Regions from separate parts of the Homo sapiens genome. Here all the other regions are linked to region 4. Evidence: promoter capture Hi-C in human tissues and cell types (Jung and others, 2019). All regions are on one chromosome and are shown on one strand. Each heading gives the region's core, a stretch centred on a gene start or on the middle of the fragment in contact. The rest is flanking DNA. Distances are from core to core; before and after follow the strand shown.

What was found. Contacts are between HindIII fragments. The study calls those that stand out against the background at their distance.
Region 1: a contact is called between a fragment that was not itself captured here and the fragment with the promoter of ABCC12 in region 4, in 2 of the 25 tissues and cell types used here (IMR-90 fibroblasts and mesendoderm cells).
Region 2: a fragment that was not itself captured here is called in contact with the fragment with the promoter of ABCC12 in region 4 in 7 of the 25 tissues and cell types used here (H1 embryonic stem cells, IMR-90 fibroblasts, dorsolateral prefrontal cortex and 4 more).
Region 3: a fragment that was not itself captured here is called in contact with the fragment with the promoter of ABCC12 in region 4 in 2 of the 25 tissues and cell types used here (dorsolateral prefrontal cortex and lymphoblastoid cells).
Region 5: a contact is called between a fragment that was not itself captured here and the fragment with the promoter of ABCC12 in region 4, in 1 of the 25 tissues and cell types used here (bladder).
Region 6: a fragment that was not itself captured here is called in contact with the fragment with the promoter of ABCC12 in region 4 in 2 of the 25 tissues and cell types used here (dorsolateral prefrontal cortex and mesenchymal stem cells).
Region 7: a contact is called between a fragment that was not itself captured here and the fragment with the promoter of ABCC12 in region 4, in 2 of the 25 tissues and cell types used here (dorsolateral prefrontal cortex and spleen).

The regions. Positions count from the first base shown.
Region 1 is chr16:47,767,723-47,771,397 of GRCh38, reverse strand. No RefSeq gene overlaps it. Among named protein-coding and RNA genes, the nearest start is that of LINC02133, 89 kb to the left of the region's middle. The HindIII fragment of the contact is 3,324 bases long and covers 267-3,590 here.
Region 2 is chr16:47,732,262-47,735,483 of GRCh38, reverse strand. No RefSeq gene overlaps it. Among named protein-coding and RNA genes, the nearest start is that of LINC02133, 120 kb to the left of the region's middle. RefSeq lists an enhancer at 571-1,770. The HindIII fragment of the contact is 6,735 bases long and covers 1-3,222 here.
Region 3 is chr16:47,710,676-47,714,163 of GRCh38, reverse strand. No RefSeq gene overlaps it. Among named protein-coding and RNA genes, the nearest start is that of LINC02133, 150 kb to the left of the region's middle. The HindIII fragment of the contact is 3,782 bases long and covers 1-3,471 here.
Region 4 is chr16:48,154,479-48,158,006 of GRCh38, reverse strand. ABCC12 (ATP binding cassette subfamily C member 12) reads left to right here and starts at 2,014. Exons shown (of 31, transcript NM_001393797.1): 1 at 2,014-2,166. RefSeq lists an enhancer at 1-30. The HindIII fragment of the contact is 12,201 bases long and covers 1-2,385 here.
Region 5 is chr16:48,555,172-48,558,759 of GRCh38, reverse strand. The region is part of intron 2 of N4BP1 (NEDD4 binding protein 1); the gene reads left to right. Among named protein-coding and RNA genes, the nearest start is that of N4BP1, 53 kb to the left of the region's middle. RefSeq lists a silencer at 1,348-1,642. The HindIII fragment of the contact is 4,191 bases long and covers 1-3,588 here.
Region 6 is chr16:47,683,555-47,687,235 of GRCh38, reverse strand. The region is part of intron 26 of PHKB (phosphorylase kinase regulatory subunit beta); the gene reads right to left. Among named protein-coding and RNA genes, the nearest start is that of LINC02133, 170 kb to the left of the region's middle. The HindIII fragment of the contact is 3,079 bases long and covers 740-3,681 here.
Region 7 is chr16:48,536,178-48,539,422 of GRCh38, reverse strand. N4BP1 (NEDD4 binding protein 1) reads left to right here. Exons shown (of 7, transcript NM_153029.4): 7 at 1-697. Among named protein-coding and RNA genes, the nearest start is that of N4BP1, 72 kb to the left of the region's middle. RefSeq lists enhancers at 350-849, 1,789-1,858, 2,619-2,688, 2,719-3,088. The HindIII fragment of the contact is 3,094 bases long and covers 43-3,136 here.

The DNA of each region.
Region 1 (3,675 bases), core at 679-3,178, 390 kb after region 4:
TGACAAAATTCAACAGCTCTTCATGCTAAAAACTCTCAATAAACTAGGTATTGATGGAACGTATCCCAAAATAATAAGAGCTATTTATGACAAACCCACAGCCAATATCATAATGAATGGACAAAAACTGGAAGCATTCCCTTTGAAAACCAGCACAAGACAAGGATGCCCTCTGTCACCACTCCTATTCAACATAGTGTTGCAAGTTCTGGCCAGGGCAATCAGGCAAGAGAAAGAAATAAAGCATATTCAATTAGGGAAAGAGGAAGTCAAATTGTCCCTGTTTGCAGATGACATGATTGTATATTTAGAAAACCCCATCGTCTCAGCCCAAAATCTCCTTAAGCGGATAAGCAATTCAAGCAAAGTCTCAGGATACAAAATCAATATGCAAAAATCACAAGCATTCCTATACACCAATAATAGACACACAGAGAGCCAAATCATGAGTGGACAAAACTGACAAAAACAAGAAATGGGGAAAGTATTCCCTATTTAATAAATGGTGCTGGGAAAACTGGCTAGCCATATGTAGAAAGCTGAAACTGGATCGCTTCCTTACACCGTATACAAAAATTAACTCAAGATGGATTAAAGACTTAAAAGTAAGTCCTAACACCATAAAAACCCTAGAAAAAAACCTAGGCAATACCATTCATGACATAGGCATGGGCAAAGACTTCATGACTAAAACATCAAAAGCAATGGCAGCAAAAACCAAAATAGACAAATGGAATCTAATTAAACTAAAGAGCTTCTCCACAGCAAATAAACTGTCGTCCAAGTGAACAGGCAACTTACAGAATGGGAGAAAATTTTTGCAATCTACCCATCTGACAGAGGGCTAATATCCAGAATCTACAAATAACTTAAACAAATTTACAATTTAAAAAAACCATCAAAAAGTGGGCAAAGGGTATGAATAGACACTTCTCAAAAGAAGACATTTATGCAGCCAACAGAAATGTGAAAAAATTCTCATAATCACTGGTCATCAGAGAAATGCAAATCGAAACCACAATGAGATACCATCCCACGCCAGTGAGAATGGCGATCATTAAAAAGTCAGGAAACAACAGATGTTGGAGAGGATGTGGAGAAATAGGAACACTTTTACACTGTTGGTGGGAGAGTAAACTAGTTCAACCATTGTGGAAGACAGTGTGGTGATTCCTCAAGGATCTAGAACTAGAAATACCATTTGACCCAGCGATTCCATTACTGGGTGTATACCCAAAGGATTATGTTGATCATTTCAAAAAACCAGCCTCCTGGATTCTTTGATTTTTTTGAAGGGTTTTTTGTGTCTCTATCTCCTTCAGTTCTGCTCTGATCTTAGTTATTTCTTCCCTTCTGCTAGCTTTTGAATGTGTTTGCTCTTGCTTCTCTAGTTCTTTTAATTGTGATGTTAGGGTGTCAATTTTAGATCTTTCCCACTTTTTCTTGTGGGCATTTAGTGCTATAAATTTTCCTCTACACACTGCTTTAAATGTGTCCCAGAGATTCTTGTACATGTGTCTTTGTTCTCATTGGTTTCAAAGAACATCTTTATTTCTGCCTTCATTTCGTTATGCACCCAGTAGTCATTCAGGAGCAGGTTCTTCAGTTTCCATGTTGTTGTGCGGTTTCTATTGAGTTTCTTAATCCTGAGTTCTAATTTGATTGTGCTGTGGTCTGAGAGACAGTTTGTTGTGACTTCTGTTCTTTTACATTTGCTGAGGAGTGCTTTACTTTCAACTATGTGGTCAATTTTGGAATAAGTGTGATGTGGTGCTGAGAAGAATATATATTCTGTTGATTTGGGGTGGAGAGTTCTGTAGATGTCTATTAGGCCTGCTTGGTGCAGAGCTGAGTTCAAGTCCTGGAAATCCTTGTTAACTTTCTGTCTCATTGATCTGTCTAATATTGACAGTGGGTTGTTAAAATCTCCCATGATTATTGTGTGGGAGTCTAAGTCTCTTTTTAGGTCTCTAAGGACTTGCTTTATGAATCTGGGTCCTCCTGTATTGGGTGTATACATATTTAGTATAGTTAGCTCTTCTTGTTGAACTGATCCCTTTACCATTATGTAATGGCTTTCTTTGTCTCTTTTGATCTTTGTTGGTTTGAAGTCTGTTTTTTTGGAGACTAGGATTGCAACCCCTGCTTTTTTTTTTTTTTCTCTCCATTTGCTTGGTAAATCTTCCTCCATCCCTTTATTTTGAGCCTATGTGTGTCTCTGTACATGAGATGGTTCTCCTGAATATAGCACACTGATGGGTCTTGACTCTTTATCCAATTTGCCAGTCTGTGTCTTTTAATTGGGGCATTTAGCCCATTTACATTTAAGGTTAATATTATTATGTGTGAATTTGATCTCATCATTATGATGTTAGCTGGTTATTTTGCCCATTAGTTGATGCAGTTTCTTCATAGCATCGATGTTCTTTACCATTTGGCATGTTTTTGCAGTGGCTGGTACCAGTTGTTCCTTTCCATGTTTAGTGCTTACTTCAGGAGCTCTTGTAAGGCTGGTCTGGTAGTGACAAAATCTCTCAGCATTTGCTTGTCTGTAAAGGATTTTATTCCTCCTTCACTCATGAAGCTTAGTTTAGCTGGATATGAAATTCTGAGTTGCAAATTCTTTTCTTTAAGAATGTTGAATATTAGCCCCCGCTCTCTTCTGGCTTGTATGGTTTCTGCCAAGAGATCTGCTGTTAGTCTGATGGGCTTCCCTTTGTGGGTAACTCAACCTTTCTCTCTGGCTGCCCTTAACATTTTTTCCTTCATTTCAGCCTTGGTGAATCTGACAATTATGTGTCTTGGGGTTGCTCTACTTGAGGAGTATCTTTGTGGTGTTCTCTGTATTTCATGACTTTGAATGTTGGCCTGCCTTTGTAGGTTGGGGAAGTTCTCCTGGATAATATCCTGAAGAGTGTTTTCCAACTTGGTTCCATTCTCCCAGTCACTTTCAGGCACACCAATCATACGTAGATTTGGTCTTTTCACATAGTCCCATATTTCTTGGAGGCTTTGTTGGTTTCTTTTTATTCTTTTATCTCTAACCTAGTCTTCTCCCTTTATTTCATAATTTGATCTTCAATTACTGATACCCTTTGTTCCACTTGATCGAATCAGCTATTGAAGGTTGTGCATGCGTCACGAAGTTCTCATGCCATGGTTTTCAGCTCCATGATGTCATTTAAGGTCTTCTCTACACTGTTTATTCTAGTTAGCCATTCGTCTAACCTTATTTCAAGGTTTTTAGCTTCATTGCGATGGGTTCAGATATCCTCCTTTAACTCGGAGAAGTTTGTTATTACCGACCTTCTGAAGCCTACTTCTGTCAACTCATGAAAATCATTCTCCGTCAAGCTTTGTTCCATTGCTGATGAAGAGCTCTGATCCTTTGGAGGAGAAGAGGCACTCTGGTTTTCAGAATTTTCAGCTTTTCTGCTCTGGTTTCTCCTTATCTTTGTGGTTTTATCCACCTTTGCTCTTTGGTATTGGGGTGACCTATAGATGGGGTTTTGGTATGGATGTCCTTATTGTTGATGTTTATACTATTCCTTTCTGTTTGTTAGTTTTCCTTCTAACAATCAGGTCCCTCAGCTGCAGGTTTGTTGGAGTTTGCTGGAGGTCTACTCCAGACCCTGTTTGCCTGGGTATCACCAGCAGAGGCTCAGTTGGAAATGC
Region 2 (3,222 bases), core at 649-3,148, 420 kb after region 4:
AAGTATTTAATGCAAATGTCAATACAGTCAGCCTAAGTAGAGGCCAGCTCAGCCCATTGGAAAGGGAGTTGAAGGTAAATAGAGCAGAGGCTCTGGGAAAGGAGCCAGCCAAGCCAGCCCAGGTGATAAGAGGTAGACGGTCCTTTTTTGCTCTCACCTCAGAGCCCTCACCACGCAAGGCCTGGTTTTTCAAATAGCCTTCCTTACAGATAAAAGCCATGCCTCAGTACAAATGAATTCTTGCTCTGATACCACTCAGATGTATTTTAAAGCATTGTTCCAACAGACTGATTCCACAGTAAAAGAGAGGAAGGGCGGGGTGAGAGAAAGGAGCCCAGAAGTTTCCTTGTCTGTCTCTATGTGAATCCGCCAGGCCTTTGTAACAATCACACTTAACTTGAGAGTATCTGGAAGAATGGGCCATTTTTCATTTTCCAGAGAGAATGGCCAGCACCTATAGCTTTAATAGATCCAGAGAAAGAGTAAACATAACATTTAGGATCTCTGACAAGGTTAACTGAAGATTCCACCCCAGGACAAGTGGGGTGAGTTACTTTGCTATTTCCTCCCATATGTGATATAATTTTTAGTATAATCACATTTTCTCAGACCTCAAGGAAGAGCCCTAGGGGATATTTTTAATTATAAGGTAGACTTAGCATTTGGCCCTATGTATTATGAAACATCTTTGCCAATGTCAGATAGTTGAGTCCTAGGACCAGATGGGAGCATTCATACAGGCTTATACGAGGCACTTCAGTTCCTCTTATCCTCAAATCTGCTCTCACCTCATTGTCTGAATGTACAACATCTGAGGCTTTGTTCTCCCTCGCACTCTCTGATGGGAAGCTGTATAATTCGATCCATTGTACATTAAAGGTGTTTCGTTAGGATGATCATTTAAAATACACACACACAAAGGCACACTCCAGGGTGCCACATATTAAGCATTTTATCTTTTCTTTTAAAACAATCAGAGCTAAATGTTTTTACAGATAATCCCAGACCTCATTATAGGGGAGTAAGTGCACACTCTTATAAACCATTCTTTCTCAATAACCTGGCTTATGAATATCTTCCTCTGCTCTCTTCCCATTTTCACATTTAACCCAGTTTCCTACCTTTTGAAATTCAGCAGAATCTTCTCTGTCTTGTGTAGCCTTGGCTGTGTTCTCCTGACCTCAGATCCAGAGACGATTCCTGTGGGTTATCTACCTAATGCCACCCACAACATGAAAGCCAGCCTGTAGCCGGCTGTCAGGAGCTGCTGCCTTCAGGTGATTATCATGCTCTGCATGCCTTTTGGAAAGGAAAAAAAATCAGTGAAGCACTGCTGGTCTTGCTGCATCTTCAGGATTATTATTATTATTATCATTATTGAGAAATAGTTGACTCTGCAACTGGACAGATTCTCCTTCAAAAGGCAAAGATGCCATAGGAGCAAAGGAGTCGAGACACCTCGTTGTCTATCCCCTGCCTCTGGGATGGGCTGGGGCCATTCTAGAATTTCAGCGCATTCATTCTCTCCACATAGGATGGCTCAATGTTTATGCTTAATTGCAATAAGTTTCCTTAGCATAACAGAAGCTTCGCTGGACATCCTCCAGTTCTCCCAGTTAACAGCGATGTCCCTCCTCCTCTACCAGGCTGAGCCATTATAATTTCTTCCTCAGGAATATGGATTGGGAATGTATAGCAAGGCCCCTGGTATGTAAACGCAGGTACTGCTGGTGGCTGTGTTTTCTACTGTGTGGACTGGAGAACGAGAAAGCAAAGACACAGGAGGAGGAGAATGTCCAGAGAGGAGTGAGATGAAAGCAAGGAAAGGGTCCCCCTTGCTGACAGCCAGGCCCCTCCCTGGTTCTATTCTTCCCTGAAAGCCTTGCTGCATCACGGGTCCATGAGCACCGTTCTATGCTTACAATTCTCCCTCACTTATTTTGTTTTTGTTTTTTGAGGCAGGGTCTCACTCTGTCATCCAGGCTGGAGTGCAATGGTGCGATCTCAGCTCACGGCAATCTCCACCTGCCAGATTCAAGCGATTCTCCTGCCTCAGCATCCAGAGTAGCTGGGACTACAGGCGTGCGCCACCACACCCAGCTAATTTTTTGTAGTTTTAGTAGAGACAGGGCTTCACCCTGTTGGTCAGGCTGGTCTCAAACTCCTGACCTCAAGTGATCTGCCTGCCTTGGCCTCCCAAAGTGCTGGGATTAAGGTGTGAGCCACTGCACCCAGCCTCTCCCTCATTTATTTTTTCCCTTAAAACAGCTCAAGTAAGTTTCTGATATAACCAAAACCTTCCTTACTGATAAACACATGTAACTTTTAAAGAATTGTTATTCTTTCCCTTTTCCTTTTGCCTTTTCCACTTTATCATCTGGTGTTTTGACTTCGTGGTTTTGCTGTGGACGCACATGTACGCTTGTGCGTTCTAAGACGACTTGCCAGTCTATATGGAAAAAATGAAAGACAGATTCATCCTATTCATAAACAAATGCAGGGAAAGGCATTTCAGAGCCTGCCCTGGTGAGTCACCTGCACCCCCTCCTGTGGGGCAGTCACTCTTTAGCACAAGTCTGTGTGGAAAGGCAGAGCTGGGGATTGTAGGCACTTTCATTTTTTTTTTTTAAGAGAAACCAGAAATAACCATTTTTATGAGAAATCTCTTAATTTTGAATTGTCGGCACAAATTATGTTCATACAGGAGACCAGTCCCCTGCCCCCTGCAAAAAAAGTTTTCAGGCTGCTTGAGCTCTCTACTTTACATCCTGTTAGTCATACTGTGGTCTGAGGACCCACAGCATCAGCAGCACTCAGGAACTTACCAAAAATGCAGAATCTCAGGCCTACCCCAGACAGGATGAGTCAGAATCTGTATTTTAACAAGGTCCCCAGGTCATTTGTCTGCACATTAAAGATTGAGAAATCCTGGCTTAGTTCACTAGTTCCTAAATTTGGCTGCATATTAAAACTGCCCAAGGAACTTAAAAAAAAATAGTAATACCTGAATTCCACTCCCAAGGATTTTGTTTTAATTAGTCTGGAATGCAGCTTGGGCATAAAAAAATAAAAAAATAAAAAACTCCCTGGGTGATGTTAACAGGTAGCAAATGTAAATGTAAAGAACTGCTGGTCTACCACAGGACCCAACACCACTTCCTACGGCCTCCTAGGTACTGTCCAACAGCTCACTCAGACCTCATCCGCCTTGGCTCCTGAATT
Region 3 (3,488 bases), core at 331-2,830, 440 kb after region 4:
GACCCGAGAGACGACTCCCCCAACCAAATCTCTGGAATTCTAAGGACAGCCATCCTGAACTGGGCTCAGGAGCTCCATTAAGGATGCGGAGGGAAGATGCAATGGAGCAGAGGCAGAGGCAACAGAAATAGAAGAAAGTTTCCATTCTTAGAACAGGGGGGCTGTCAGGCAGGGCACGGTGGCTCACGCCTGTAATCCCAGCACTTTGGGAGGCTGAGGTGGGCGGATCACCTGAGCTCAGGTGTTTGGGACCAGCCTGACCAACATGGTGACCCCGTCTCTACTAAAAATACAAAAATTACCCTGGCATGGTGGCGCACGCCTGTAGTCCCAGCTACTTGGGAGGCTGAGGCACGAGAATCACTTGAACCCAGGAGGCAGAGGTGGCAGTGAGCTGAGATCACACCACTGCACTCCAGCCTGGGAGACAGAGCAAGACTCTGTCTCGAAAAAAAGAAAAAAAAAAATGAAGAACGGGCAGACTGACTCTCCCTCCACTGAGGACACCACTTTAGACTTGCTTTTTCTTAGCCATTGTTGTTGTCGACTAAAGACAAAAATTAAGCTTTTAAAGAATTAAAGTTAGTTTTATTCAGAAGTCTTAATGAGGACAATAGGCTGAGACCTAGGGCCCAGAGCAGATGGGTCAGATTGCTCCAAACCAGTTTCAGCCACAGCTTATATGCAAGTGGCGGCGGTTGAGTATGTGCAAAATCACGTCAAAGTTTGGATGTGAGAGTACATCTGGTTCTAGATGACTACCCTTTCAGACGTTATCTTATGTGCAGGCAAAGGCAAAGGTTCAGGTTATTTATCTTTTCAAGGATGTAGTGACTCAGGGAGGATGTGGGTGGCCGCGGGCTCTGTCCTGCCTTGTCCTCAAGGCATTGTTCCAGAGGACTGCATTTCATCACAGTGAGGGGTTCAAGCAGAAATGAGCAAACATGGCTTTTTATGTTTGCTATCTTGTCTCACAATTGTCATTTAAAAAAAGAATACAGAAGTTAAAAAATAAACCAAAAGGAGCTGGTCTAAAAGGTAAGGCAGATTAGTGCAGGGAGTTCAGAGCCCAGATCTGGAATCCTGCAGACCTTGGCTCTAACCCCCGCCCTGCCACTGGCCTGGCACGGGCCTGTTTAACTTCTTAGCTACTCAGCTTTGTCATTTCTCAAACAGAAGCAGCAACAGTCTCTTCCTCACAGAAACGGTGTCAGGGCTAAATGAAATCAATCACAAAAAGCGTTTAGCAAAGATGGAGCCAAAACTCCTGACGGACACTGGGCCAGGTGTCCCAGGGAGTGGGTGGCCGGGCCCCGGGCAGGGTCTGACAGACACTGGGGTTAGTGTCCTGAGCAGTGGGTGGCCAGGCTCCGGGCAGGGTCTCATGTACTCTGGGGCTGGTGTCCCAGGCAGTGGGTGGCCAGGCTATGGGCAGGGTCTGACGGACACTGGGGTGGGTGTCCAGGCAGTTGGCGGCTGGGCTCAGGGCAGGGTCTGACGGACACTGGGGTGGGTGTCCCGGGCAATCGGTGGCCGAGCTCTGGGCAGGGTCCCATGGGATGCATCTGGCTCCCTGGCTTTTCAATTTCTTCCTGGGGCTGCAGCCATCCATTCCTCTGAACTGAAAGCTGAGTCCTAAACCACATTATCTCTTTGTCTCATTTGTGGGTTTCGATGACAGACAGTGAGACAGGCAAGTGAGCAGTCCCCACTCCCTGTTGGGGAACTTTCTCCTGGTTTGAGCCAGATATCAAGTGGGTGGTTACTGAGAAACGAAGCCACTGGGTCCTGGGAGTGGGAGCAGAAAGGAGATGTCAGATTCCGAAGACAGAAGACAACAATAGGACTTGGCAATTGATAAAGAAGGATATTAAGTATTAGTGCAGGTTCTGGGATAATGGGGAGGCCATAGAGAAGAGACCTTAAGTCCAGAATGGAGAATATCTGTATTGGGAGGAAATAGCAAGTTCTACAAAATTTGGATAAGGGGTTTGATGAAAGATAGTAGGACAGATAAGTGCAAGTTTCTGGTGGTTAAATAGCAATACAGGATCCATATCTATTCTTATCTATGTACATGTGTCTATACATCAAGATGTGTGTGTGTAGGAGTTAGCATAGAAGTGAAATTTAAGACAAGGGAATGAGAAGCTCTTCGAAAGACAGACACAAGGGAGTGAAACACTTAAAGGAAAGGGGATGCAGTTACAGAAATGGAAGATGAACTGATAAAAAGGTAGAGGTGGAGGGGAGCATTGCAAAAATCCAGCCCAATTCACTCACTTAAAGGATAAGGAGACTGCGGTTCAAAGAGCATCAGTGATTTGCCGAACAGTCGACCATGTCCAGAAAAAGGGAGATATGGGGCCTGAACCCATATTCTCAGACTCTCAGAGAATTCTCAGACTCTGTCCTTTCCCACTGGAGACCTGGACATGGCTACTTGCAAGTGAAAGTTAATTAATGTTGATCACCAGGATGAAATTGGTGATCATGAAGGTCTAAATTGGCATAAAATAAACTTATGGGTCAAGAAATTGTGAATAGTAAAAATGTGAATACACCTTTTCCTTTCACATAGGTCAATAAACAAACACACACACATAAAAGCAACACAAGAAAGAATTTTTTTTTTTTTTTAGACTCGGTCTGTCGCCCAGGCTGGAGTTCAGTGGCGCAATCTCGGCTCACTGCAAGCTCCGCCTCCCAGGTTCATGCCATTCTCCTGCCTCAGCCTCCCGAGTAGCTGGGACTACAGGCGCCCACCACCATGCCTGTCTAATTTTTGTATTTTTAGTAGAGACGGGGTTTCACCATGTTAGCCAGGATGGTCTCAATCTCCTGACCTCGTGATCCACCAGCCTTGGCCTCCCAAAGTGCTGGGATTACAGGCGTGAGCCACGGCGCCCGGCCAGAAATCTTAAAACTAAACAGAATCTTGTTAATTGAGGGCAGATTAATGATTTCAATGGCTGGAGAATCATTCCGCTATTTTTATTTATTTATTTATTTATTTATTTATTTTGGAAAAGGAAGTTGCAGGAAAAAATCAGATTCAAAGCATCTCCTTTCTGCCTGGATTCATCCTGCTGTTTTCAACCCAGAGTCTTGTAGGAAGTTGTCCAGAAGGGAAACGATCGTGCTGCAAAACTTCTAGGTCATGAGCTGTGCTTTCATAATTTGCAATGTCTCTATCAAAAAACAATTGAATCTGAAGAACCAGAAACACATGTTGCATGAAAGGTTCCAGATTACAGCTCCCACTTTCAGCCTCAGAAAACAAACACTTCTCTAAATGATCCCAACCCTTCTGAACCCATCATCTTTACTGGTGGCTGAGCTGGCATTTGAGCCAAAATTGCCACTTAAACCTGCCCCATTTAGTTCACTGTACTGATTGCATAAGATGGGACCGTTAATTATCTACCTCACATTCTGTTTCTCCTCCACCATGGTAGGGTGGGCACTTGACAGTGGGCGACTGATGT
Region 4 (3,528 bases), core at 765-3,264:
CCCTACACATGTATATCACTGTACACAATTTTTTTTTTTGAGACAGAGTCACTCTCATCATCCAGGCCTGAATGCAGTGGCACGATCACAGCTCACTGCAGTCCTGACTTCCCTGGCTCAATTCATACTCCCACCTCAGCCTCGCAAGTAGCTAGGACTACAGACACATGCCACCACGCCCAGCTAATTTTTGTATTTTCAGTAGAGATGGGGTTTCACCATGTTGCCTAGGCTTGTCTTGAATGCCTGGGCTCAAGTGATCCACCTGCCTTGGCCCCCCAGTACTGGGATTATAGGCCTGAGCCTCTGCACACAGCCAAAATAGAATTTTTAAAGGAAGAGGAGAAATATGAAAAGGATTTCTATTTTTTTTCTTTTTGTATTCCAGTGGATTATCTCGCCCCCCCGCGAGCTGTGTGTACACCCAGGATGGGCCTCAGTTCCCTGACTATGGGTGAGTCCACGCTCTGCCTGGAACAGGAGCTTGGCTGGTCTTTTCCTAAGGACTTCCTTGGATACAGACCGGACAGTCCCTCTCCATCATTCTCCACTCTGTTTCCGGCTAGGCCCACCAATCTTCTTGCGTAGCGCCCAATACTGTTTGTCTGGGTGGAAATCCATCTCCGCCCAGCCTTTCATGGAGATAGAGGAAAACTGATCGGCATTCTTCCTCCATAAACTTGACAGCACTTGACTCCGTTTGGAAGATTGTGGAAGCGAGTCTTTGCTGTGTTTATGAGACCCCCGGGGTTGTTGCGAAGATCAAGTGATAAAGAGGATGAAGAATTTTGCGATACACAAAGGGCTCCAGAAATGTCGAGTGATATTATTAGCAGTGATTTGCATTCATGAAGGGAAGAATGGACGGAAATTAAATGGAACACTTTGGACACGTGTAAGGAAACTGCTGTCGGTCTAGCTCACTCCCCAGGCCGGGGAGCCTTCCTGGGAGGACCCATTTTCCTACACAGCTGCCCACAGCCCCTCTCCATTTCCACCTCCCTCTAGGTAGGAAGGGAACTCAGGTTGGGCAAAGGCGGTGAATTCGCATCTCCAGGAAGCGGCGGGGCCGGAAGGCAGCCAGCAGGGGGCGGCATTGCGCAGGACAGGAGAAGGTAGCGGCCAAGTTCCTCATGAAATCCACGTGCGTGAGGCTGGGAAGGTCCTCTAAGATGTTTAAATAACCCTTAAAGCGGAATCAAGATTTGTTTTTTTCTGCAGTTAGAGAGTTTGCTCCCTCCCAGCCGGCTCGCTGAGCGCTGTGGAACCCTTCGGCTGGGCTCCCCTGAAATCGGGCGCTTGTTCTGGGACAGGCGCAGAAGGGACCCCGGGAATCACGCTTGCGCTCGGGATGTGCAGGGTTCCAAGGGTGACACAGGGGAACTTTTCTATGCAAGGGCTAGCTGCTAGTGCAGGTCTCAGACTTACCTTCCGTTCATTTCAAGACAAATTGAGCTCAAATTACCCTTTTCTTTTTCGTTAAATGAATGGGGAATGAATGAATGAGATTTTCTGTTTTGAAGATGAGGCTCATCTCCCCTCCCCTCGCCTCCCCTGCCCTCCCCTACCCCTGCCCTCCCCTACCCCTGCCCTCCCCTCCCCTCCCTTCCCTTCCCCTGATCCCAAAGTTGATTCCCGGTTGCAGGAACACAGCGTAGAAAATTCGATGCATTCTCTCAGGAAGGAGCCTGGAGTGGGACTCAGGGGACCTGGGTGCTGGTCTCAGCCCCACGCCAGTCGTGGACAGGCTTCTGTTCCTTGGGCTTCTCGTCTGTAGAATGACGGTTGGAGAGAGGATTTTTCTCCTTCTCTTCTACAAGGATGTGCTGTGACAGCCAGGGAAGGGCTGGCCATGCACAGTGCTTTCATGCATGGGCTCTGACTGTCACCAAAGAGCCAGACCCGGCCACAGGCCATCCTGGAAGAGGGGAGAGCCCTTTAATGTGGGCAGAGGGAATGTTGGCCCGCCAGAGTTCCCTCTCAGGTGTGGTGGGAGTGGCAGTTGAATGGGGCAGTTGGAGAGGAGGACTTCAGGCGGGTGGGACAAGAGAAACTGAATCTGAGGTCCTTGGGGAGAAGCAGGCCCTGGAGTCCTGGGCAGCAGATGCCAGGCTCTGAGCCCCATGACTGCTGACCCTCCTCCCCTCCCTCTCATCCTCAGCCCAGGTAAAGCTTCATTTCCAGCCCAGGTAAAGCTTCTCCCTGTAACAATTAGTGGCCACCATTTAGTCCCAAGGGCCTTTGTTTCTCATCCTCAGGACAGGCTGTGTGTGTGTGTGGTGGGGGGTTTGGGGGAGGTGACACCACTGAATGGGGCTGCCCAAGTGGGAGGCAGCAGGGACGAGGCTCCCAGAAGAAAGGCAGCCCCTCTTCCACTTTTGGAGCCCCCGCTATCATAAAAGAAAAGGCAGAAATGCCAAGACGCGATTTCAAAATCTCTGAAATACAAAAGCCTACATTGAATATTTTAAGTCTTTTCCCACACATGCACAAACACAAACACATATACAGGGTAGTGTTCACAATTTAATTATGGGATTTATACCTCCCCCCCAAAAAAAAAGACCTGGAAAGCTTTACTGCAGTTCTCATATGAGGTTTTCATCTTTCTTTCTTTTTTTTTTTTTTTTAACTTTTAAATATATTATTTTCCTGGGAGGGTAGATTTGAATTGCTCTGAATCCAGGCTCTGCATCCTTCTTTGATCGTGTCGGAATGTGTCTGTAACTGGATGGATGACCTCTTTTGGAGATGCCATCACTGGCCACTGTTTTAGGCCTTCTGGGAGATGAGGGTACTTGAGCAAAAGCACCCCCACTTCCCTTCCCACACCCCCAGCTTGGTGCTGTCCCCTGCATGCACTTCCCTCTGCCACCTCTCTGCCTCTCCCTGCCTCCCAACCCCAGTCCCTCATCACTCACAGGGCTTTCTGATCTGGCTGCCACAGGTGCCTGGGACCTGGGGACAGACAGGAGAGGTGCGGTGCAGGCAGGGCCTGGGAGAGCTCCCCAGTGTCTCCTCTGTGCTGGAGGCCAGTCAGGCCCTGGAGGAAGGGGCTGTGGGAGTTGGGGGAGACCATCAGATATTGATAACTTTGGTGGCTTTAAATTAACAATGGATTTATTAAGAAAGAAGTAGGGCTGTAGTCTCATACCTGGGAAAAATTTTATGACTAAAGGTGTGCCTGCTTTTGGTTGATGGAGGAACTCCCATCATGAGCACCAAGGAAGACCCAGAGTCCAGTTCTCAAACATAAAGTTGTTAATTTTCTGGGCTAGACAGGGGCAGAAATGAAATATAACAGAGCAAAGTGGGCAGGTGTGGAAAATGGTTCTTCTTGAGATGACTTCTAGACATCTTTTGTTCTCTCTTGGGGCAGAGACAAGGATAGAGAAAAAGGCCTCAGGAAACACTATAAGGAAGACAGCAGTGCCAATGCAATAATAAATGTTACATGACCCCAAATCTCAGAGTCACAGAGACAGTAAGGAGTGGTGGGGATTGTGGCAAACTAAAGCATGTATACCC
Region 5 (3,588 bases), core at 638-3,137, 400 kb before region 4:
CAGTCACCCACACCCCAAGCCCGGAACAAGTTCTTCATTGTTACGATTTCTTGAGCCAACTCGTGACACAAAATTTAGGTCACAATTGTGAGCAATTCTCATCCTCTTTCACTTTTCTATATGTGGAAGGATTTTCCAAATAAGAAATGCAAGGTTAACGTAGAATGAGCAGCGATCCTGATGCTTTTTATAAACCTTTTGGGGTAGTTAACAGGCATATTTCTCAGCAGGGTCACTGTTGGAATTTAGAGTGGTGCTGCCTATCCGTGACAGGATGTTTTGCAAATCTAGTCCCTCCCACTTTGCTTATAATATCCTTCCCCAGTCGTTGTGACACCTCAAACACACTCCTACATATTTCCTAATGCCCTGAGTACAGTATCATCTCTTTTGAAAACCACCAATTATTACACTAAGGGAAAGCTGCAAGCTTTCTTTTTTTATTTCTTCTTTTTTTTTTTTTTTTGGAAAACTGATTGTTTTGGGAGGATTTACATTTTCTTTGGATTCACAGATGTCTCTGTTTAAAGGCAATACTTTTACAAGAGAATGTGTTACTTTAAGAAGACAGACTTGTACTTAATTTGATGTAAATTGATCTGAAAATATCAGTAATTAAGATTTACCCATATTCTAGGAAGAAACTGCGTAATGGGTATAGAGTTTTATTTTGGAGTGACAAACATTTTGGAACTAGATGTAAGTGGTGGTTGCACGGCATTGCGAACGTAGTAAATGCCATTGAATTGATTATTTTAGTCGTGTGAATTTTACCTCAATTTTTTTTGGAAGTTGGAAAAAAATCAGCCCTTATTTTAAATCAGTTGCTTCAATGTTAAGTGTGAATAAACTTTGACTAGATTCCATGAAGAAACTGATTTGTGTTTCTTCTGTTCAGTGAACTACCTCTAATACCCATAGTCCCTGACACATAGTAGGAGCTCAGTAAAAACTTGTTGATGAATTAAAGGCAAATTAGAATTTTTCTTTTTTTAAGAGGTAAAGTCTCACTATTTTGCCCAGGCTGGACTCAAACTTTTGGGCTCAGGCAATCTTTCCTAGTAGCTGAGGCTATAGGCATGCCTTACCATGCCCAGTTTAGGATTTTTTTAGTGGCTTTTTACTACCTATTTGTAACTTCATGGTTACTATTCCAGTGGCCAGTTTAGATTTTTAACTGAGGCCATATATTTAATGCAACAAATATTTGAGATTTTAAAGCCGAATCACCCATTATTATGTGTCAGGCACTGTATTTTTAAAAATGCAACCTTCACACCAATTGTGAGTCAAAAGTTATAATTTATACAACATGAAGTGGCTTAAAAATGTTTTCCAGGGTTACATGGATAGAGATTTGGGCCCATAATGTCTTTCCCCAGAGCTGCTGTATACCCTCTCTCCTCCAGCAGAAGTTAAGGTTGGAATTTTCAGGCCAACGCATCATTGGATACTTAAGTCTTGGGTTGCATAGCACTGCTGACTAAAGCTCACTGATTTGACCCAAGTAGTTGGGGAAGTACTTATTTGGTCCTTAAGCAATAGGATCTGTTGGTGTGAGCCCCACCCTAAAGCAGCCTAGGCCCACCCTTCGATGTATTTTTGTAAAGCCTTTGTTCATTTGCCTATCCAGAATGAGGTCTGCAGCCCATACCACCATGAAAACCTCCACAGTACCCTGTTTAATGCTGCCAATTTTGTATACCTTGTTCTTGCCCCCTTGTCACCATGAATGAGTCAAATGATGAGTAAGTGGAAATTGTTTGTGGTGTATGGCTAGACAGCACAGTAGTGGCCAAGAAACATTTGGGCTCTGTCAGCCTGAAACTTCAGCATGAGAGCCCCTGACATATGGGGTGATAGTTTTCCATGTAGATGGGGTTTGCCCCTTCCCTTGCCAGAATTAAGTATTTTAGCCATTTTTTTTTCCATACTAGTCTTTTCCATATTAGGGTTCCATAAAAAGAAATCGCTTTTTCCTGGGTAACTCAGAAAGGACTTTCCATTGTCCCCACACTGCCCTGTCTGGTGCTATGGCTGCCATGAGTTTTTATCAGCTGTGTGTCACCCATCTCTCCTCCACTTTGGACACTTTCTTTTAGTTGCCAGCATTCTATAATATGGCAAACAACCAGATGATATAACCTTTAACCAATTATATGGAAGCAGGCATTTAAATGTCTTGAGGGCCTGGACACCTGGCCTCCCAGACTTGATAACTGTTCATTCTGCATTTGGAACTGGGAGCCCCAGAGCTTTGGCCTTCCCATAAGTAGCAAGGTGTTATTATATATATACTTTGGGTCGAAATAGACCTTTGGTCTGGGTTTACCTGTCAACATGCTACTCTGGTTTGATTGCAGAGAGGCTAGGAGACAGTGATGAGTAAGCACATGTCTGCCTGCTCAGGGTATAGGACTTGAAGTAGGAAGAAGGGTCCTTAATCGACCCTCTGTATTATTTTGAGGACAATAATTTGGCTTCACTTAATTTTTTGTCATTGTAGTTTTATTTTTTGGGTAAATTTGTATGTTCTCCACCAGAATTTTGAACCTCTATTTTAATTCCATTCCTGAGATTTTTTTAGAGTATCAAAAGTGATATGATCTTATTACTGAGAATAACACTTTGGAATTTAGTTGAGAGCTGATGTTTCTAGAACCTCCATCTGTTCCCCCTCTAGACTTGTAAGGAGTCCAGGGCAGCAGAATTCATCGGTCTGCATTTCCTTCCTTGTTACATAGTGACCCAGTGGAATTGAACTGGGTACTCCTCCTCTATCCAGTTCCTCCTCTTGCCATCACTAGAAGCTTTAAGGAAAAGAGGGAGAGTAGGTAGCACACATTTGTATCTGTCAAAGTAATCAGGGAGCCACCTTAAAAACCTTTTCAGTGCAGTTATCTCAAGGGTTATCCTTTTGAGGACTAAATATACATATTTCTTGGTTTTTCTAAGAACCAGCAGGTTGTTCTGTTGTGGATTTTCAAATTAGGGCTGTGGTTGATGTTAACTCTGGGCATGTCCCTGCTGTTAAGCAATTAGAGTGATGGATGATTTATTGTTTTTGGAAGATTAAAAGAGGCCCCCTTTAAAGAACCACCCCCAGTCTTTTTTCTAGTTAAAAATGTCACTTTGTTACCTTCTTGCCATATTTGAATGCCTTTAGATAAACAAAGCACTCCTGAATTATCAAGATTGCGTGTGTTTATTTACATATATTTTCTGGGGTAAGAGCCTCTGAAATATCTTATTTATGGTTCACTGAAAAAGAAATAGCCTTTAAAAAGAGGAGTCTGTGCGTAGCTCTTGTGAATCTCACAGAGCATTAGATGTTCGTGAAGTGTCCAGCCTCTTCCTGCTCTCAAGGAACGCACATGCAGGTGGGGTGACAGTCCCACTGTGGGGTCGTGGAAAGGGCAGGCGTGAGGAAGCCGGAGTATGATCCAGCTCATCCCCCTGGCTCTGCAACCCAGGCAGGCTGCTCTTTCCCTAGTGACTCCTTTTTCTAACAGGCATAATGCCATTCTATCTCTGTGATTCTCGTGCACCATACAGGATTGGAACTCAGAAGAGGAAGGAGGCTGAGAG
Region 6 (3,681 bases), core at 1,030-3,529, 470 kb after region 4:
TATAGACCAGGCATAGAATTGTCTTCTACTTATTTTATTTATTTATTTTATTCATTTCTTTACTTAGATTTAAAACTTACATTTGAGGCAGCTTAGAATAACAGAAGGAATACTGAATTAAACATCGGAAGACCTGCCTGTTGGTCTCCTCAATAAGTCAATGGAATGAAAAGGAAAGTGGGATTTCCTGTTGTAGATGAAGTGATTTAAGAGACATAACCACTAATACCATGAGTCTTGTTTTATGTCATGATTCAAAAACAGACCAACTGTAAAAAGTCATTTCGGGGATAACCCAGAGAAATTTAAATAAGAACTGAGTATCTGGTGATATTTAAAAAAATTACTGCTAATTTTGGTGGGTATGATAATGGTATTGGGATTATTGAGATAATGTCCTTTTTTAGAGCTATATACTCACTAAAATACTCACAGGTAAAAGTTAAATGTCTGGGATTTGCTTCATAGTATACTATAGCAAAATAAAAGATAAAGCAAATATAGCAAATACAAATAGCTAAGCACTGCTTATACCCACTAAATAATGAGTACATGGGAATGTACCAAATAAGTCATTATATACTTAAAATTCTTCATAATGAAAAGCAAAGACAGACTTAAATACCAATTCTGTCACTTACCAACTGTGCCCCACTGGCAGATTATTTTTCAAATGGGAATACTACTATTGCTCATCGAACTTACTTTATGAAATTATTTTGAGGAACAAATAATGTCTATAAAAAGGCTCTGAAATGTTAAAGAGTCATAAAAATGTTAGTAAATTATTGTTATGTGATTTCTTAAACTCAGTTTAGAGGAAGGTAATGCAAATTTTTAATTCAAGTCTTGGAGTTACTTAAGCAAGTGTCACAGTCAATTAACTTCAGGAGGTATCTTCTAAAATAAATAACATTTTTATTTTTAAAAGGCTTACTTTTTAAACTCTGCCACTAACTTGAGTTATTAAAACTAAACATAGTTTATCACATTTATCTTTTAAAATCCCTAGTATCACGCACAAAGATAGCTGGAGACCTTAATGTTTTCCCTTAGACTTCCATTTACAAAATCTCAGCAGTTTTGTGGGCAAATTATTGACAACACTGTTCTCAAAAATCATGAAAGGAAGCAGGTTTTTCACTCATTCAAGCACAAATAAATACAATCTGTCATATTATTAAAATACATTTATTGGCTGGGTACGGTGGCTCATGCCGGTAATCCCAGCACTGTGGGAGGCTGAGGCAGCGGATCATGAGGTCAGGAGATTGAGACCATCCTGGCTAACACGGTGAAACCCTGTCTCCACTAAAAATACAAAAAATCAGCCAGGTGTGGTGGCAGGCGCCTGTAGTCCCAGCTACTCAGGAGGCTGAGGCAGGAGAATGGTGTGAACCCAGGAGGCGGAGCTTGCAGTGAGCCGAGATCACACCACTGCACTCCAGCCTGGGCAACAGAGTGAGACTCTGTCTCAAAAAAAAAAAAAAGAAAAAGAAAAAAAACCACATTTATTCATTAAAATTGTTGGTCAAACTAATCTTTTTATACCTTGGAATTCTTCAAATAAAAACAGCAAAACAGCCTTAGACATAAACTATAAAACTATTAATAGCAGTCAGAAATCTACAGAAAGTAAATTACCAAGGAGTAACACAGTTAAGAATATCAAAGACATTTTATCCATTTGTAGGACTACTAATAAAGAAGGACATAGGAAAATCAGGCTAATTATCCCTCATTCCCAATGACAAGGCCATAAAATCTGATTTGATAATTTTAGCACAAAAGCTTTCTTTTTTTTTCTTTTTGAGGAGGAGTCTCGCCCTGTCACCCAGGCTGGAGTGCAATGGCGTGATCTTGGCTCACCGCAACCTCCGGCTCCCAGGTTAAAGTGATTCTCCTGCCTAAGTCTCCTGAGTAGCTGGGATTACAGGCGTGCGCCACCACACCCAGCTAATTTTTGTATTTTTAGTACAGATGAAGTTTCGCCATGTTGGACAGGCTGGTCTTGAACTCCTAACCTCGTGATCCGCCCACCTCGGCCTCCCAAAGTGCTGGGATTACAGGCGTAAGCCACTGTGCCTGGCCAGTACAAAAGCATTTAAATACAAAATAGGGAAAGGAAAAGATGGATGGATGGATGGAAGGAAGGAAGGAAGGAAGGAACAAAGGGCAGAAGAAAGAAAATGTGGAAGGTCAAAATAATGAAGGTTATGGATGGCCCAGAGTCTTATACATTCAGTCTGTGTAAGAGCCAGAGATGCTCTACTCGCCAACAAGCAAATGAGAAGGTAGATACACACGACTGACCAAATCAACCTTCATATATATCCAGGTTTGACTTAAGGACAATGAATTCTTTGGGACTGCTGGAAAAGCACAAAAGGGAATGTTAGTATTCTTCAGACAGTTCTGGGAATAAGCTTATCCTTTTAAAAACACTCTTTTTTTTTTTTTTGAGACGGAGTCTTGCTCAGTCGCCCAGGCTGGAGCGCTGGAGTGTAGTGGCATGATCTCGGCTCACTGCAAGCTCTGCCTCCCGGGCTCACGCCATTCTCCTGCCTCAGCTTCCCGAGTAGCTGGGACTACAGGCGCCCGCTACTACGCCCAGCTAATTTTTTGTATTTTTTAGTAGAGACGGGGTTTCACTGTGTTAGCCAGGATGGGCTTGATTTCCTGACCTCGTGATCCGCCTACCTTGGCCTCCCAGAGTGCTGGGATTACAGGGGTGAGCCACCGCGCCCGGCTTAAAAACACTCTTGTTTGGAGGCTAGTAAGGATACAGTGTGTGTATTGGCATGTTTCTTTCCGATATACCCCAATTAAGGAGTACAATATGAAATAAAGTACATGGAAATCTGACAGCAGTGGTAAACCAGAACACCTGAAATTTTATTTTATTTTTTTTGAGACACGGTCTTACTTGTCACCCAGGGTGGAGTGCAGCTGTTGTGATCTTGGCTTACTGCAATGTCCACCTCAAGCAATCCTCCCACCTCAGCCTCCCGAGTAACTGGGACTACAGGCAGGCACCGCTACACCCAGCTAATTTTTAATTTTTTTGTAGAGAAGGGGTTTTGCCATGTTGCCCAACTGGTCTCAAACTCCTGGGCTCAAGTGATTCATCCACCTTGGCCCCTCAAAGTGCTGGGATTACAAGTATAAGCCACTGCACCTGACCAGCTGAAATTTTCTGGAAAAAAAAAAAAAGCCATACAGAATAGAACTGATCCTTGGAAAAAATAATTTTTTTTAAATAATCATTTTAAGATTTCAAGATAAGACAAGGATCTGCTAAGTTTGCTGTTAAACAAATGATTGGAGGTGGAGCCAAGATGGCCGAATAGGAACAGCTCCGGTCTACAGTTCCCAGCGTGAGCGATGCAGAAGATGGGTGATTTCTGCATTTCCATCTGAGGTACTGGGTTCATCTCCCTAGGGAGTGCCAAACAGTGGGTGCAGGACAGTGGGTGAAGTGCACCGTGCACGAGCCGAAGCAGGGCGAGGCATTGCCTCACTTGAGAAGCACAAGGGGTCAGGGAGTTCCCTTTCCTAGTCAAAGAAAGGGGTGACAGACAGCACCTGGAAAATCGGGTCACTCCCACCCTAATACTGCGCTTTTCCAATGGGCTTAAAAAACGGCACACCAGGAGATTATATCCCACACCTGGCTCGGAG
Region 7 (3,245 bases), core at 340-2,839, 380 kb before region 4:
CTGCAGCTTGCATGGGGCCCCTCCCTTCTTCCACACCCACCCTCCGTATGGTCCCCTGCTCTGCCCTCGTGCTTTGCTGGCCCCTGCCCGCTACTCCCACTCTCAGACACCCAGGGGTGGTGGGCCCTAACTGGCTGGCCCCTCCCAGCGCTGCCCTCTGCCGTCCAGATGCTGCAGTGTGGCCAGATTTACCTTCCAGTAACATACTTCTAGTCACCCCTCCTCCTGCGAAGTGATCTGCAGTGGCTGTTTGACCAGACCACAAAGTTCACATCTCCTGAGCTTAGTGTCCGTGGCTGTCCACCTCCCAGCCATACTTGACTGTCCCCAAACTCTCCCTGCAGCCACATGTTTCCCATGACCTGTGGGCTCTGCAGATGGACCTCTCTCCGCTAGAGATGCCCTTCTCCCAAATGGCTTCCCTCCTGGAAGGCCCAGCCTGAGTCCTCGTCTCCTTTCCAGTGCTTCTGCCAGAAGCATCCCCATGATGTTGTGACCGCACAGCACTTTGTGTCTCGCTTTGAGCACTTGCCACTCTGGCTGGTGCTGCTGCCACTGATTGTGTACTGTCTTGCTGCCCTTTCTAGACTGTGAGCTCCTCGTGGGCAGGGACCGCCTGTGTTCTCTGTATTTCCCACGGCGCCTAGCACAGTGCCTTGCACTTGATAGGTGCTTAATAAATGTCTGCTCAACTGAACTGGAGGACAGTGCCTTCTTGACTGCGGCATCTGGCAGCAGGACCAGTAAGAGGCCGGGAATCCACTGCCCTGCAGTGGGACAGTGGGGTGGGGCTGGGGTCACTCCACTCCCTTCTCCCTCCCCTGCCAGGCTCCAGCACATGGCATCCTGGGCACACAGGTCCGGGGAGGGGTACCTGGCGCAGGCTGCATACTAGATGCACTCAGGCTTCCTGGCCAGGGCCGACAGCCGGCCCAACCTATGCCAGTCCAAGTCACTCCTGGGGAGTTCCTCTGTGGTGGTGGGAATCGTGGGATGCCAGGCCCAGGTCTGTCAGAAGCCATTTTCCACCCTGGGGGAAGTCGACCTGTGGCAGGAAAGAAGCGGCGACGTGAGAGAGGTTCCTGGCAGCATGAGCCTTGGGTTCCTGTTGTCAGGAAAGCCCTTCCTCGGACGTCACCACACCCCAGTATTCTAACACACTTTTTGCTTAAGCTGGTCATTCCAGTTGGATTTACGTCCTTTGAAATCGAGTCTTGAGTAACACGTGTTACTGTCTTTAGCAAGGATTTGCAGATTGTTTAGAAAGGTCCAAAGACCTGCACAAACAGGGCTTCAGGAGTATCCACCCCAGTCAGAAAATGCTGGAAGGGGCCAACTATTTCGGAGTTGAGTAACTTGAAACTCAGGCCTGGTGCCCCTCAGCAGAGAACTCGGCCTGGCTCTCGAGCTGTTCCCTGCTGCCGTGGCTCTGTGCCCATCCCACTGCCTCTTCAGTCCCCTGACGGCAGTTCTTTTCCCCAGTTCCCTAGTTGGGCAAATGCCAGCACTGTTCATTTGGAGTTTGACTTTCTGTATACTTCAGAACTGTAACTAAGCATTATTTTATTATGCCTATTTTACAGATGAGGATTTCCTCACCTGTAAAATAGGCATAATAATGCTTTCTACTTCAAGGGTGACATGAGGAATAAACGTGGTGCTTAGAACTGTGCCCAACCCAGAGCCCCGCTCAGTGACTGCTACTGGGGCTCTGATCAGCAGCCCTGCGGACACCTACCTAACTATTCGCCACCCTTCCAGGTCATCCCACACCCCCACCAGCCAGGTCTTATCTCCAAGTGCTAAGCCGTCATCCTCCAGGTTCTGAACGCACTCCTTTATCCCTGTGGTCCAATGATGAGGGTGCTTAGGTTAGGGCCTACATTTCTTTCAGTGCCTCAGCAGGGCCATGGGAAGTCCAGCTGTTCTAGAGAGGGCATTGTTCCTTGAACAAGGCAGGCACTTGGGAGAGTCCCTCGGGTGCCGTCACCAGAGAGAGCACCCGGAGGAAGTGAGCACAGCCACTGCCTGCCTGCAGGGTGCTGAGAAAGCTGAGGCCGGCAACCAGTGTCGTGCCCTCACCACCCATGTGCCCGGCAAGCTTCTGTCTCCTTTAATCCTCACCTCACTCCTAAAGTGCTGCTGTTATTATCTCCATTTTGCAGAGGAGGAAACTGAGGTACAGAGATGCTCAGGAACTTCCATTTCTTCAAGCTAAGATGTCCAGGATTTAGGATTTGAATTCCAATGGGCCATCCCACCTCCCTGAAAGGCAAAGCTGCACCAGAGGTGACTCAGCAGCTGGTATGGCACCTAAGATACCTCCACCCTTCAAGGAAAAGAATTGAGGGCCCATGACAGACCTGGGTCAAGGCTGTCAGTCTTCAGGGCACAGGGAGGCTGCGGAAGGAAGCTGCCTCCCCACTTCCTGCTTGGTGGGCCCGTATCCAGCCCTGTTCCTGCGAGAGGATGCCAAGAGCATATTTTTTTAAAGAAGTTGACCAGTTCTGCAGAAGCTGTGTCAGGAGTGAGCCCATGTATGCATCAGAGCCACCTTGCACTTCATTTCGGGAAACACAGATGAGTTGATGTTGATTGGAAACTGTACGTGGCCTTTTTCCCGGCTCAGGTTCCAATCCCCTACACACCGAGGATGCCAGGGCTGGGGGCATTCACTGGGGAAATGGACTGGGCAGGCAGGGATTTGCCCAGAAACAGAGCAGAAGTACCCACAGCCAGTGCTGGAGCCAAAAGCCCAGAGGCTTAGGGCTTCTTAAACCAGCCCCCTTTCACCCCCTCCTGCCTGGTGGCTTCAGCTCCCAGAGTCACAGGACTCCAAACCGCAGACTCCAGCCTTTGGGGCTTTCCTTCCCCAGCCCCGAGTCCCCAGGGAGCCCTGCTTGGCCCCACAGCCTGAAACCCAGTCTGGGGTCAGGCCTGGGCAGGCCCTGTCCTCCCCTCCTCCCTGCTTCTAGCGAGAAGAGGAGGCGGCGGCCTCCCCCAAAAAGAATGCGCTTGTCTGCCCGCCTGTCTGGCTCCTGGATCAGTCTAAAGTTTCAGCCACCAAAACAGGCAGCAGGAAGAAGAGGGCCTCCCGCAGCCTGCCCCTAGCAGCTGCGCACGTGGGCTTGCTCAGGGGACTTCCCCCAAACCAGGGTGTCTCTCAATGCCAGCAGGACCCTCTCCCCTTGCCAGCCCCTCAGGATCCCTGGCATGTCACACCTCCACTCTGAGAAGGGCTGGGA